Linked DNA regions of Homo sapiens: all the other regions are linked to region 3. Evidence: promoter capture Hi-C in 16 types of primary human blood cells and fetal thymus (Javierre and others, 2016). All regions are on one chromosome and are shown on one strand. Each heading gives the region's core, a stretch centred on a gene start or on the middle of the fragment in contact. The rest is flanking DNA. Distances are from core to core; before and after follow the strand shown. Region 1 overlaps IL13RA1 (interleukin 13 receptor subunit alpha 1). Region 2 overlaps LONRF3 (LON peptidase N-terminal domain and ring finger 3). Region 3 holds the start of DOCK11 (dedicator of cytokinesis 11). Region 4 has its middle 17 kb from the start of ZCCHC12.

Region 1 (3,727 bases), core at 975-3,474, 270 kb before region 3:
ACAGGTACCGGGGTTGGAACCTACGAACATACCTTTTTGGGAGATACAATTCAACCTGCAACAGCCTCCATCCAGCAACCAGTGAGGTACTGAGGCTTTCCAACAACTATATGAGTGAACTTGGAAATGGATGCTCTGTCCCCAGTCAAGCCTTCAGACATATTTCAGTTCTCATTGCAGCTTGACTGCAACCTCATGAGACCTCCAGCTAAGCCGTGGCTAGACTCCTGACTCACCGAAACTGTGAGATGGTAAATGTATGTTGGTTCAAGCCATTAAACTTTGGAGTAATTTGTTATACAACAATAAATAAACGAATACAACCATGCCTGGCACATAACTTGTTGAGCTTCTCAATTAATAGGGAATTGGCTACCTCGACAACCTGTTTGACCAATATACAGCTGTTTAAAAAGTTCTTAAGTTGGTTCTGTGTTGCCCCTTGGAGACACAAAAAGTAAAGCCTATTCCTTCTTGTACCTGACAATACCTCAAATATTAGAAATCAGCAATCATGACTCCTCAAAGTTACTTTACCAATTGTTCCTTGCCAAGTTTTGAGATTCTTCAACATCCTGATTATCCTTTCAAGGATAGATTCCAGTCTGCCAAGGCAACTCCTTTAATGTGGTGCTCAGAATGGAATACTGCACAATTCTGATGTGACCATAGCTCTGTGCCCCAACCTGCAGCATTCCTTTCTGGGTGCTGCACTTATCACTCCTAAGATTGTATATGCCTTTTTGACACATTTAAGATTACAATGTTGAGTCACATTGCACTTATAAAGCCGTGTATCCCACCCCACCACACACACATCCATAAAGCACAGGTCTTTCCAGTCCTGTACTTGAGCCTAGCTTGCTCAGCCTTTCAATTAATAAATGATTTTTTTCAAACTTAGGTACAGGTTTCTATTAAATGGCTCCACTCTTGTTTCTGCCAACCAGCATGTAGGACAGTCTCTAGTATTGTACAATGTGCAAATTTTATTATGCCTGCCTTTTTTTTTTCTTCTTCCTTGAGACGGTCTCACTCTGTCGCCCAGGCTGGAGGGCAGTGGCACAATCTCAGCTCACTGTAACCTCCGCCTCCCAGGCTCAAGAGATCTTCCCATCTCTGCCTCTTGGGTAGCCAAGACCACAAGCGTGCACCACCATATCTGGTTAATTTTTGTATTTTTTGTAGAGATGGGGTTTCACCATGTTGCTCAGGCTGGTCTCCAACTCCTGGGCTCAAGCGATCCTCCTGCCTCAGCCTCTCAAAGTGCTGGGATCACAGGCGTGAGTCACTGTGTGCAGCCTATGCCTGCTTTCTATATTTTTGTTCAGTTTGTTAATAAAAATGGAAATGAGATAGAAAAGAACATAAAACCATTTGGATTATGGTTTTCTAAATAACTGTATACTGTCAATTAACCCTGGGTGGTTTGAAAGTGATTAAGAAGAAAATAAATTTCAATTGTAAGTACTCTTTTCCTGACATCAAGAGAGCATGACAGTCCCTTTCCCCAGTCTATTTTCTGCTTCAGCTTAGTTTTTATACATCAGTGTTTTAAATTTTAATAAAAATTCTGTTCTCTTACCTATACTCATTTCTTGGCTCCAATTACTCCAGAGTTTGTCATCCTCATAGCATAACTTATTTGTTTTGACTCTTATTCTGACTGTGTTCAAAGTATCAGGAAGAACACCAGGGACCATGAAACAAGATGTATTCTTAGGCATAAAATAAAAATACACAAGGAATATTACCAGTTTATTCTTTTTCACTGTTATTGAATCATAATACAATTATCTGCCAAATTCTGTCTATGATTAAGACTTGGATTGCAATTCAAATTATCTTTGACTTTTCGAAAAAATTGTCAATAACTCACGGAACAACGTAATTTGTTTTTCTCAAAGCAGCTCATATTTAGGCTATGCTCCACCCCCAACTGCTCTAAGTCTAAACCCAAATAGCTAATGTTGAATTTACTGACCTCCACATTTCTCTCAAATTCTGGATTCTCACATTTAGCCTCTTGGACCTTGAAAATAAAAATAAATAAATAAACTAATGAGTCCTAAATGTTTAAAAACCCATTTTCTATCACCTAGTCATTTCTAACAAGCTTTCCTTTTATCCCATTAAAAGATGATCAGGTACAGTGAAAAAAGGTTGGCCTTTTTTAATAAATGGTGCTGGGTCAATTACATATGCATATGAAAAAAAAAAAGATTCTTGACGCCCTACCTCATACTATTCACAAAATCAGTTCCTGATATATTGCAGATTTAAATGTGTAAGATAAAATGAATTAATAAATACATAACTATAGCAAGCTTTTAGATAAAAACAGAGAATATCTTAATGACCTTGAAGAAGGGAAATATTTCTTAAACAAGACCAAAAAAACCTCCCATATTAACCATAAAGAGAATTTTTTAATAAAGTCATCCATATTAAAATTAAAAACATTTGTTGATCAAATGACACCTTATAGGGAAATAAACAGGCAATGCATAGAGTGTGAGAACATATTTGCAATTTCTGACAAAGGACTTGCATATGTATTTTTTCTTACCCTACTAATAAGGCAAAAACAGAAAACCCAATTTTAAAAAAACTGGCAAAAGACTTGAACAGGCACTTCATAAGAGGATAAGCAAGTTGCGAATAAACATCTGAAAAAGTGTTCAACATCACTGGTCATGAGAAAAATGCAAATTAAATCCACAAGATAACAATACACACACTTACCTGACAACAACAAGTGTTGTGAGGATATGAAGCATCTAGAACTCACAATTTCTGCTTAGTAGTGTAAACTGGCACAACCATCCAGGAAAACTGTTATTATCTACTAGAGACAATCATATGTAACCTTATGACCCACATATGCCTATATAAATGCCCCATACAAATGTACGCACATGTGTACCAAGAGACAAGTATGTGAACGTTCATAAGAACTCCATTCATAAAACCAAATGGGAAACTATCCAAACGTCCATCAATGGGAGAATGGATAAAGTATGGTATATTCACACAATGGAATGAATGTAGTGAGAACGTGCCATCTACAGCTATAAGAAACAACATTGGTGAATCTCATAAACATAATGTTGAGTGAAAAAAAGGGCAAACACACAAAAAAGTACATTCTGGGCCAGGCACAGTGGCTCACGCCTGTAATCCCAGCACTTTGGGAGGCTGAGGAGGGTGGATCACATGAGGCCAGGAGTTCGAGAGCCAGGAGCCTGCCTAACATGGCGAAACCTCGTCTCTACTAAAAAATACAAAAAAAAAAAAAAAGCTGGGCTTGATGGCATGTGCCTGTAATCCCAGCTACTCCGCACGCTAAGACAGGAGAATCGCTTGAACCCGGGAGGTGGAGGTTGCAGTGAGCTGAGATTGCGCCACTGCACTGCACTCCAGCCTGGGTGACAGAGCAAGACTCTGTCTCGAAAAAAAAAAGTACGTTCTATATAATTCCATTTATATAAAGTTTTAAAGTAGCAACAAAATCAATCTATGGGATTAGAAGCCAGGAGAGTAGCTGCTCTTTGGGAGGACAGCAACTGAAGGGGGCTTCTGTGGTGCTGGTTACATAGGTGAAAAATCATTTGTGAAAAATCATTGAGCTATAGGTTATGATTTGTGTAATTTTGTTCATGTATTATAACTCAGTAAAAACTTTTTAAAAAGAGACAGGGAGCGAGAAACCAGTGTCCCTTGTTGA
Region 2 (3,577 bases), core at 1,002-3,501, 480 kb before region 3:
ACATGGCAAAACCCCGTCACTACTAAAAATACAAAAAATTAGCCGGGCATGGTGGCACACGCCTGTGATCCCAGCTACTCGGGAGGCTAAGGTGGGAGACTCACTTGAACCTGGGAGACGGAGGTTGCAGTGAGCTGAGATCACGCCACTGCACTCCAGTGTGAGTGGCAGAGTGAGACTCCGTCTCAAAAAAAAAAAGCCAGCGCGGTGGCTCACGCCTGTAATCCCAGCACTTTGGGAGGCCAAGGCGGGCGGATCATGAGGTCAGGAGATCGAGACCATCCTGGCTAACACGGTGAAAACCTGTCTCTACAAAAAAAAATACAAAAAATTAGCCAGGTGTGGTGGCGGGCGCCTGTAGTCCCAACTACTCAGGAGGCTGAGGCAGGAGAATGGCGTGAACCCAGGAGGCGGAGGTTGCAGTGAGCCGAGATTGCGCCACTGCACTCCAGCCTGGGTGCGAGAGGGAAACTCTGTCTCAAAAAAAAAAAAAAAAAAAAGAAAGAAAACAGAAAGAGAGAGAGAGAGAAAGGAAGGAAGGAAGGAAGGAAGGGAAGAAAGAGAACGTTTATATAGTGCTACATGCCAGACACTGTTCTAAGTACCTTACATTATTAGCTTATGTAATCCTCACAACAGCCCTCTTTAGTAGCTGCTTTGAATATCCCCCATTTAACAGATGAGGAGATGAAGTACTGGGAAGTTAAGTCATTTGCCCAGGGCCACAAAGGTCATAAAAGTTAGCAGAGTTGGGACATAAACCCAGGCAGTCTGGCTCCCAAGTGCATATTCTAGAGAGTCACTATGCCCAGGCTGCTCTGAAGGTCATGAGTTGAAGACTGAATTGGGGAAGAATCCAGCTCCCTTGCAGACCTGAGTCACTCTTTGCCCAGGGATCTTTACCCTGGCTCCTTTGCAAAGTCTTCTTCCTGTTCTGCTTGAGCTCTAGTGCCCCTATGCTCCAGGGAGGCAGCCCTTCCTGCCAATACCTGTCTACAGTACAACCCCTTCCCACCTCTTCCATCCCACACTCACCTTAAAACCCATCGGGCGGAGCTTACATGCTATTTCTGCATCATGCAGTGCATTCTCATGAGACTCCAAGGTGAAATAAATCTGAGACCGATTGCTATAAAGCAAGTGGTCATTTGGAGCTGTCAAAATAAGAAAGAAAAACCTTTATTAATGGCCCCCAGCGCAAGCAGGTGTTAAGTCCTGTATGAGTATGGATCTTGAGCAAATGATAAGTTTTCTAGGACTTTTCTACTGGAGATCAAAAGGGTTAGGCTCTATTTCTAGTCCTAATATTGTCCTGCCTTCTATACCCCCAGCCACTCTGGGCCTGAGGTTCCCCAACTGCAAAGTCATTTTTGCCCCCGCTCACAAGTGGTTCATTAGAGGCCCCGTGGTGTCAGTGGTGCATTAGACACTTTGACATAGGCGAGATGTGGCTACACACGGCTAGTGTCCGGCAGCCTGGTTTATGAGTGCAGTATTACCAACAAGAAAACAGGCCAGGTAGGAAGGAGAGAGAGGTGGGCAGATGTGACCCCTATCTGAACCACCAAGAAGACAAATCCAAGTTACTTTTCCAGGTGGGAATGACTGATGACATTAGTAACACCTTTGTCTACAAAGCCCAGCACATATGAAGATTTCTTGAAGAAAATGGAAATACATTTACATGGTCCCATCCTCTCATTTCAAATGGCCAAATGTAAATGAACTTGGACAAGGTTTCTGGGAATAAGGTGAGGCCGGCTCTCACCAAAAACTCTGAATTACTAGATGTCAGAGCTGGACAGGCTATTAGAGATTATCTGGCTCAATCAACCCATTCTTCAGATGGGAAAATCAAGCCCAGAGAAGGGAAGGCATTTTCTCAAGGTCACACGGCTAGCTGGGCAGTCACTGATAACTGGTCAGACTTTGAAGCTTTGAAGCTGGGATGTGGGGAGCAGGTTCCTTTTTCTGAAGGTGTGTGCAGTACTTGGAATAATACGGACACAATGGCCATCTTCCAGAACAGAGAGCCTCCTTTCCTCTTAGAAGGGTAAAGCTGGCCTTGACATTTTCACCCTGACTTCTCTGAGGGGATTAACAAAGATGCAAGGAAGAACTTCCAGGGGAATGTGGTGGCAACAGAGGAGAAGGGTGAGGGCAGGAAGGGGCTTTCCTGGCCCCTGGGGGATGGCTAAAAGGTATGGAATCTGCCTTAGAGATCTAGAGTTAAGTGACCTCCACCTGCCTCATTCATATTGCCCTGCTCTTCCCCAAGATCTGGGATCTAGCTTCCTCTGTGGCAACAGGCTTTGATGTTTTTTTTTTCCCCAGGGGTGTGCTCAGGGCTTGCTTGCGTGCCCATTACTTGCTCTTAAGACATTAGCAAATTGTTTAGTCTTTTCTGTCTTTTTTCTTCTGCAGCACACTCCAGCCTGGTGGCAGCTCACAGTCTGCCTTGCTTGTGCACAGACAGGAGCTAGAAGGGTCCCCTTCTCCGGCTGCCAGCCTTGCCCCTTCAGTCCTCATTCCTCCTCCTCCTCCCCCCATTACCTGTTGCAAGCTTGAGTGGAGATTAAACACGTGGAGACTCCGGCCCACACCCCTCCTCCACTCCACAGAGTCAGGTCCAGGACACCCTCGGATCCCAGGGCCCTGCCTGCCCAGCCCTGCTGCCTCCTCCCCGGCATGCTTCGCCAGACACCGCGCCCCACGGCCGAGCTCCTGGCAAACTGCCAGAGCTGGGCAACACCGGCTGGCGGCTCAGCAGCCACTTCCTGGGTCCAGGCGTGGTGGGTCAGAGAGCGGCTCCCTGGGGAAATTCGGGTGCCCTAGTCTAGCTGGAGATGGGGGACTGCCCACGTTACCCTTGAAGCTGCAAAGCCCACCCAACCCTCCCAGGCGGCACTGAAAAGCGGGACAGAGGCGTGACCCATTCGTAGCCAGCCCACGGTCCCCAGGGATCCCCAAGCAGTTGCCGCGCCGGCCTCCCGCCGGGCTGGCCAGGTTAAAGGGGTTGGAGGCGAGGGCACAGGCTACGGGTTGGCGGGGCGGGCAAGGGGGGGCATCTATTTCAGCCGAGGATCGTGTGATAGGAAGCGGTGACAATGAGTCACAGGGCAGCGGGGCGCAAGCGCTCCCCCTCCCCCCGCACATGCTCGTGGGATGGTTTCCGAAGCGAGCGTGGTGGCCCACTTCAGTTACCTCAGCGGTTACACAATCCCGCCCGCTCGCGCGGGGGAGGGGCGCCCGACCCGGGCCGCTCGCGGCCCTTATGCAACCAGTGCTCTCCTGACCTAATTCCATGCCGGACCCACCCCACAGGGAGCCGCGGCCCCGGAAGGGGCAACACCCGGCGGCGCGAGCGGCGGACGCAGGCGCCGACCGGACATCTCCTGCTGGCTACAGCCCAGAGGACCGGGCGCAAGTGCGAGGAGCGCGCGAAGTTCCTCTCCTCGCTGGGAAGGTGCGAGCAGGTGTAAGAGGAGACCAGGAGTGCAGCGGGAGAAGGAGAGTCAGAGGAACAGAGACAGTGACACCGAAAAAGAAAGAAACAGTGACAAAGATACGAAGAGAC
Region 3 (3,527 bases), core at 723-3,222:
GTGTTGTGGTAGAAGGCCAGCCAACCCCGCTCAAGGAAGGTTTTTTGTTTTCTCTGAATTTAGGAAAGCGTTCTCTGCTAGGTAGATTGAATCACGTGTTAACAATCACCCAAGATGAGAGCCCTGGTATAAATGCTCTGCACACAGCTTGCCTTCCTCTCTTAACTGGCTGTGATGACAGGCAAGGCTCCAATCTGACCTCAACAGGTCCTCACTCCAAAATCAGACTGAAATACACAAGCCAAGTCCATTAAAGTAACATTAAAGGTCTGGATTTAGCTCCACTAAACAGCAGAATTAAACTTTCAAGGGTCTAGCCACAATAAAGAGATTTCTTTAAAGTCACTTAGGTTTGCACAGTTGTAGCTATTAGGGATCAGATCTTTATCTCAAAGGTACATAGTTTACCTTTGATCCTCCTCCAGAACTCCCACTAATGTCAACTTTCTCCACTGTTGGGATCAAGCCCCTGGCCTCCCTTTAATGCTGGGTTTTATTGCTGATTCTACAAGATCAACAGAAAAATTACAAGGAAAAGCTGTGAAGTTCCCTTCCGATGACAAGTTGTTTTAACAAAAAGAGCCCTCTCTTAAACGGTGAAATTTAAACACAGCAAACGACTCGCTGTAAAATGGAGCTGAGGGAGACAAAAACAAACAAAAACAACAACCAAAAAACAAAGTAACAAAACAAACACTAATTAATCAGTCCGATTGCTTATTCAGGGTTTGTTCGCTTGTCCAGGAAACTGGCAACGAGTGTCTTGAAAACAAGAGAAGGGGCAAGTGCCCGTTAGCACCCTTTAGCCTTTCTCCAGAGTCAGACAATCTGGATAAGGCTGAGGGTGCTCTGGGAGGGTTCCCAGGGAGTCAGCGCGCTTTCGAATCCCCATCCCCCAGTCCTGAGCTGTGGGGCTCTGACCCCAGGTCCTCCATCCCTGGACTGACACACCCAGTCTTCCCCCAAATCCCCACGGCACCGTCCCCTTGGTCCCCTTGCCTCTGGAGCGCTCGCGTGTCCCCGAGGGACACACTCTCCCTGCGGTGGATGACCCTGCGCCCACTCTGTCGCAGAACCCCGTTGTTTCTAATGCCCTTCCTCCGCAGCAGCACCCCTTCAACACCCATCACCACCCTCTCTCCCCAGTTGCAGGAGGAAGTCGCTCTGCTTCCTCTGTTCTCACCGCCAGCCCGAGCTTGGGCGCCCGGGGCTTTCTGGGTGGGGTTCTTTTTTGTGTACACAGTGTGTGTATGTGTGCGCGCGAGAGTGTGTGTGCCAAACGCTCATCGCATCCTTCCGCCTAGGCGGCCTCAGGTGCTCGCGGGAGGGGATCAGGATCTCGTCGTGCCCTTGTCCCCGGCTCTTTGTGCCGAGTCCAGAGCAGCGCGAGGTCAGCTCTTTAGCTCACACCCCCGGCCCCGACCCTGGGTGGGAGCCTCCGCCTCCGCCTCCTCCGCAGCCGTCCGAGCCCGGCTTTTGCCCGTCTGCTTCCATCCCGGCGCACGCCTCCGCCGTGCCGGGCGGCCGGAGAGCTGTCAGCCGGCGCCTGGGACTCGGACCCCGGCCGGCGGCTGCCGGTGCGAAAACTTACTGGAGCGGAGAAAGACAGCGCGCGGCGCACCAAGCGGCCGCACTGGCGCCGTTCCTGCCCCTTCCCGCGTCGCTCCCGCCTGGAGCGCGTCCCCCGGGATGCCCCGTCCCCCGGCCACTCACCAGCACCACGGAGCCCCGCACGGCCTCAGACACGCTCTGCCGGAGCTCAGCCGCCGTGCCAGGCTTGCTGAGCCGTTTGGTGAATTTGCGCACTTCGGCCATGGCAGCGGCGGCGGGCGGGTCTCGGCGGGCGGGCGGACCTCGGCGGGCGGGTGGACTCACTGCCCCGGCCCGCGGCGGCCGCGGCCGCTGCTGCTCCCTCTGTTTACTCGCCGGCCGGCCGGCCACATCGCAGCTCGGCGGCGGCGCGGCTCACGCTGCTCCTCCCTCCCACCTCCCACCCGCTGCTCCTCCCTCGTTCCCTCCTTCCCTCCTTTTCTCGCTCGCTTCGCCCGCTCACTGTCCTGCCCCACGGCGTCGGCGGCGGCAGCTCCCTCCCCTAGAGGGCCCGAGCTCCGATCGCCACCAGCCGAAGCAGGAGGGTGTGTCTGATGGGGAAGGGTGTGTAGAGGGGGAGGGAGAACTGGAGGTGGGGGCGAGGGTCACGAGGGAAGAGGGGGGAAGTGGCTACCGCTCGGGCTCCGCCCGCAGCTGATGTTGCTGGTGCAGCCGCATCCGGGAGGGGAGATCTGGGCTGCTTCTTTTTTTCCGCTTGAGTGGGGAGGGCGGGGTGGGGTGGGGGAACAGAGAGGGGTGATGAAATGTCTCCAAGAGTGGGGCGTGCTCCTCTCCCGCCCTAGTGCTCCTCTCCCGCCTCCGAGCTGCAGTGCCCGCAGGAGGGCTGGAGAACTCTCACGTCCCTCCACCCCGCAAGCCCCCAGGGCCCAGGCGGCTAGGGGCTGGAAAACAACGTGGAGCAGCCGCCTTTTGTGTGCTCCTTGGGGAAGGGTCGCACCAATGTCGAAGGACAGAGAGCTGCTTTCCAGCGTGAGCGGCTCGACTGGGTCCCCCTCCTCGCCCACACCGTTTTCCTACTCAGTTGGCTCACCTAACAGGGGGCAACACTGGGGAGAGAGCATGCTTCTGGAAGTGGGAACTTATTGTGGCGGCACCCCTCGCTCCGTCCCCCACGGGGGAGAGCTGGGTGGTGGAGCCTGAGCCTGTGGCAGGTGATCCCTAGGTCAGCACTGACTGCACCAGGAGTGGGGTGGGGGTGGGCATTAGGATGAGCCTGTGGCAGGTGATCCCTAGGTCAGCACTGACTGCACCAGGAGTGGGGTGGGGGTGGGCATTAGGAAGGCCATCTCCCTGGGTTTGGTGGACTTACCAATCTTATAGTAGCTTTTACAAGTGCCCTGCACTCACCTCTCCATTTCCTATTCATCTCCTTACTCTTTTCAGCTTCCAAGAAATTGTTTTTCCAAGAATCAAAGAACATCTCATAACAGGGTATAAAACGAACATGCTTAAGACAGAAATAGGGACGGGAATCTTGAAGTACTAGTGACCCTGTCAGACCTCCTGAAGTGCAGAGTGAAAGGCTCCACTGATGGTGGCAGTTTTCTATCTGGTTATTTCATTTGTTGAGAGTTTGAAAATGGCCCTCAGTCTGGGGGACCGAGCAGCCCTTCTGAAAGCAGTCCTACCACCACCCATCGGGCACTTTCCCCACCCTCAAAGACCAAACAGTCTTTTAGGGGACTTTATTATGGAAACAAGGGCATGCGTGGTGATGGTTTCTTTGAACCCAGAAAAGGCCAAGTCTCTTCGCAGTAAGCCTATTTCAGCCATCCCATCAGTCTCAATAAAGCATATATGGAGGCTCCTAGAGGGCCTGGGACCTGGAAGTCCTCTAAAGACATTCTGTCACAAATCTTAGTTTTGCACAGTACGTGTAAAATTTGTTAATTGTTGCGTGTAGGCTGATCTCCAAG
Region 4 (3,813 bases), core at 500-2,999, 310 kb before region 3:
ACCTATTCCTATTTTCATTAGGGCAGTCTAATTTGGAGGAGTTTTAGGGGGGGTTCTTTATTTCTACATTTCCTGATTTTCTAGTTGTTGTAATTGTTATTTTTTAGACATGTTTTCACTGTAGTTGACATGCTAATTCAGAATGAAAGATCTTCCTAGAGACTGTCCTATGTAAAGCAATTGAATCTCCCTGCTGTATTACCACTGTAGAAGACAGAGGAACAAGGAGGATGGCCCCTTCTTTCCCAGTCTTATAGGTTTCATAGTTTTCAGAACAGTTAATTTCTGGCTAATTCCTACCAATCCTTAAAATTTCAGCTTAAATGTCACATCCTCAGAAAAGTTTTTGCTACCCTGCAAGACTAGGTCAGAATCCCCTGTTACCTGTTCTCACAGCCTCATCGACCTTTTCTTCATCTCACCTCACTACATCTCACTGCATCATTGACCTTTCCTTCATAGCAATTATCACATTTAAAATGATTGTTTTGTCTTTACAGTTAGACTGTAATACAGGTTTCTGAGGGGACCCATCTATTTTTGCTCCCAAATGTATCCTAGTACCTGACACACTGTGGCCACTCAATAAATGTTTGTTGAATGAAAAATGAGTAAATGAAAATCCAGTTCCACTTAGGAAAAAGATGCTAGCAAAAGAAAACATAGAAGAGTAAATTGTGCCCCTGGAGGCAAAAATTCAGTATTCTAGTATCAAAGGTCAGAACCAGGCAGTGATGAAGTCAAAATGAGGGGATTTGGGAGATCCGGCAGAGGGTGGTTCAGGCAAGAACTTTGGTCAGTTGCTAGAGCACAGTAGCAGCAGCAGCATGGAGTATCTCAATCCAGTGCTAGGATGCTGTAGCTGACTGAAAGTATTCTGCTTTCAGGGGTTCAGTCCTTCTGGAAATATGCTACAGAACATGTGCACCCATGGTTTCCTTCATTGGGGACAGAGAAGTAGAACTAGGCAGAAAAGAATTTAAGGAAGAACTATAAAAGGCTTTTGAGAGGAAGGGTCTTGCTGGTTCCAAAATAATGTCCTCTCTCATTAAGTGGCTTTCACAAAGCTGCCATTACAATTTCTACATGCAGCCCCCAGATGGCAGCAGTGTGTTACTCTTGGGCTGCCAAGTTCGTGATGAAGTCTCTGCTTTGACATCTAACCTACCATGCCATGACTGCCCCCAGAGCTAGCTTAGATTTGGGTTGTCCTCACACTGTGCTGAGAGGGCTTGCAATGTGTCTTATTTTGGGAATGACCTCATTGGTCTTTCCCTGGCAGCTGGCTCCCATAACCCTGACTCTTGAAGCTGCCCTCCTCTCATTGCCATCCGTGAGTGTCCCCAACCCTGTAGGAAATCATAACCTAATGGTTCCTCTAGCATACTACAGTGAACATGTCCAAAATGAAATTCGTATTTCTCATCTACTCCCCATTCCCCACCCAAGCCTGTGCTTCTCTATAACATTTTGAGCATCTCCCTCCCATTCATGGAGTCCTGGTGAGTCAACCTCTAAACTACTTCAGATCTGTGTCCTCCTCTCCTGTTTGCCAGGCATGGAGCGGATCCTCTCCACCTCTTGCCTAATCCCTAGGTCATCTGCTTATCTCTGTCATCTTTCTCTCACAATCCATCCTTCCACTCTACTCAAACTCCTTCTGAGGACAGGGATGCCCCCTTTTGTTAATCTCTTCAGATTCTACTCTTGCTTTAATGTGCAGACCAACTAGCACTGCCCTCAAAAAACTTTTCTGGGTATCCTCCCAGCCCCGACACCCCCATCATTTTTTCCACTGCCTGTATACAGCACTTTACTTGGACCTCCTTTCATAACTCTAATTGCTAATATTCTGTCTTGTTGATAATCCATTATTTATATACATAAATATGTCACTCTAGCCCTTAGCCAAGGTGGCAACCATGTGGCACAAGTACATCAACACCCCCCCACCAGTACCCAACAAGAGACATCACTGATAGATCTTAGCCATCTTCCCACTGAGCCCAAACCCAATCTCAAAATCCTTCGGGAAACAGTATTCCAGAAGAACTGATCCACAAAATGAAACAAATTTGCCATTCCTGCACTGGACTATCAGCAATAATAGGACAGAAAGTATGCACTGCACCTGTAGTCCCAGCTACTTGGCAGGCAAGAGGATCACCTGAGCCCAGGAGTTTGAGACTAGCCTGGGCAAAATAGTGAGACACCATCTCAATTTTTTAAAAAAGAAAAGAAAGCATGCTCTATTCTTTGAATCTACTACAGCATCTCGTACACGATCTATATTCGTCAAAAGCCTTCTTGAATGAATTAATAAAAGCACAAAGTGGAATAGCATAGACACTGATCATAGGAATGCTGCTCCCAGACTCCATGTTTCAATACTGCTGCTATGAATATGGGTGTGCAAATATCCCAAGACCCTGCTTTTAATGCTTTTGCATAAATACCCAGAAGTGGGATTGCTGAGTCATATGGTAGATCTATTTCTTTTTCTTTTTTCTTTTTTTTTTCTTTTTTTCTTTTTTTTTTTTGAGACGGAGTTTCACTCTTGTTGCCCAGGCTGGAGTGCAATGGCACGATCTCAGCTCACCGCAACCTCTGCCTCCCAGGTTCAAGCAATTCTCCTGCCTCAGCCTCCCGAGTAGCTGGGATTACAGGTGCCCACCACTACGCCCGGCTAATTTTTGTATTTTTAGTAGAGACGGGGTTTCTCCATGTTGGTCAGGCTGGTCTGGAACTCCCAACCTCAGTTGATCTGCCCACCTCGGCCTCCCAACGTGCTGGGACTACAGGCGTAAGCCACCGCACCCAGCCTAGGTAGATCTATTTCTAACTTTTTGAAGAACTACCATTCTGTTTTCCATGGCTGTTGCACCATTTCACAATCCCACAAATAGCACACAAGGATTCTCATTTCCCCACATCCACACCAACACTTTCTATTTTATGGGTTTTTTTTTATAGTGGCCATTCTAATGAGCGTGAGGTGATATTCATTCACTTTTATTGCTAAGTAGTATTCCATGATGTGACTGTACCAAAAATTGTTCAACCATTCACCCACCCATTGAAGGATATCTGAGTTTTTCTAGTTTTTGTAAATTATGAATAAAACCATTATAAACATTTATGTAAAGTTTGTTGTGTGAACATATGTTTTTATTTTTCTGGGATAGAGGCCCAACAGTACAATTGCTGGACCATGTGATAGTTGCATGTTTCGTTTTTAAACAAACTGCCACTCTTTCTCAGAGTAGCTGTACCATTTTATGTACCCACAAGAAATATATGAGTGATATGATTTCTTTGCATCCTTACTATTATTGAGGTGTTGTCATTATTTTTATTTTAGCCATTCTGAGAGGTCTGTAGTAATGTTACCAAAACAGCAGGAGTTCCATCTAGGTCCTGTTTTCTCACTGCACAGAAAGGCAAACACTGAGACAATGAGTATTGCCAAGGAAGAAGGCTTTAATCAGGTGCAGCAGCCAAGGAGACAAGAGATCAGTCTCAATTCCATCTCCCTGACCAACTAAAATTAGGTGTTTGTATAGCAGGGAAGAAGTGAAACCATGTGTGGGAAAACAGGAATTAGGGAGGGATAAGGAAGAGGAGTTGGTCAACAGGAAGCAGTTGGTTTGTCAGCCAATCAAGAAGGGTGAGGGATCTGGCTTCTCACTGTCCGGATGTGGTGATTTGGTGATTTTCAGATCCCGGATACTTTCTGGGAGGCCTGATGGTTTGTTTCCTGAGAAAGGAATTCAGATAAGACAAATGTAACTTTCTCAAGTTTTAAGACTGGAA

What was found. The method cuts DNA at HindIII sites, captures the fragments that hold promoters and counts their contacts. A CHiCAGO score of 5 or more calls a contact.
Region 1: a fragment that was not itself captured here is called in contact with the fragment with the promoter of DOCK11 in region 3 in 3 of 17 cell types (monocytes, naive B cells and total B cells); the score reaches 8.2 in monocytes.
Region 2: a contact is called between a fragment that was not itself captured here and the fragment with the promoter of DOCK11 in region 3, in 1 of 17 cell types (activated CD4 T cells). The highest score is 5.3, in activated CD4 T cells.
Region 4: a fragment that was not itself captured here is called in contact with the fragment with the promoter of DOCK11 in region 3 in 5 of 17 cell types (neutrophils, M0 macrophages, monocytes and 2 more); the score reaches 11.3 in neutrophils.

The regions. Positions count from the first base shown.
Region 1 is chrX:118,764,835-118,768,561 of GRCh38, reverse strand. It overlaps IL13RA1 (interleukin 13 receptor subunit alpha 1), which reads right to left. Exons shown (of 11, transcript NM_001560.3): 7 at 1,985-2,032; 8 at 1,586-1,718. Among named protein-coding and RNA genes, the nearest start is that of IL13RA1, 39 kb to the right of the region's middle. The HindIII fragment of the contact is 211 bases long and covers 2,119-2,329 here.
Region 2 is chrX:118,975,922-118,979,498 of GRCh38, reverse strand. It overlaps LONRF3 (LON peptidase N-terminal domain and ring finger 3), which reads right to left. Exons shown (of 11, transcript NM_001031855.3): 2 at 1,036-1,154. Among named protein-coding and RNA genes, the nearest start is that of LONRF3, 3.1 kb to the right of the region's middle. The HindIII fragment of the contact is 628 bases long and covers 1,938-2,565 here.
Region 3 is chrX:118,494,260-118,497,786 of GRCh38, reverse strand. It overlaps DOCK11 (dedicator of cytokinesis 11), which reads right to left and starts at 1,972. Exons shown (of 53, transcript NM_144658.4): 1 at 1,714-1,972. The coding sequence starts at 1,815. RefSeq lists silencers at 1,445-1,504, 1,675-1,734, 1,825-1,904, 2,015-2,154 and enhancers at 1,184-2,162, 2,565-2,634. The HindIII fragment of the contact is 5,195 bases long and covers 1-3,527 here.
Region 4 is chrX:118,804,876-118,808,688 of GRCh38, reverse strand. It overlaps a transcript of IL13RA1 not described here. Among named protein-coding and RNA genes, the nearest start is that of ZCCHC12, 17 kb to the left of the region's middle. The HindIII fragment of the contact is 5,226 bases long and covers 1-3,813 here.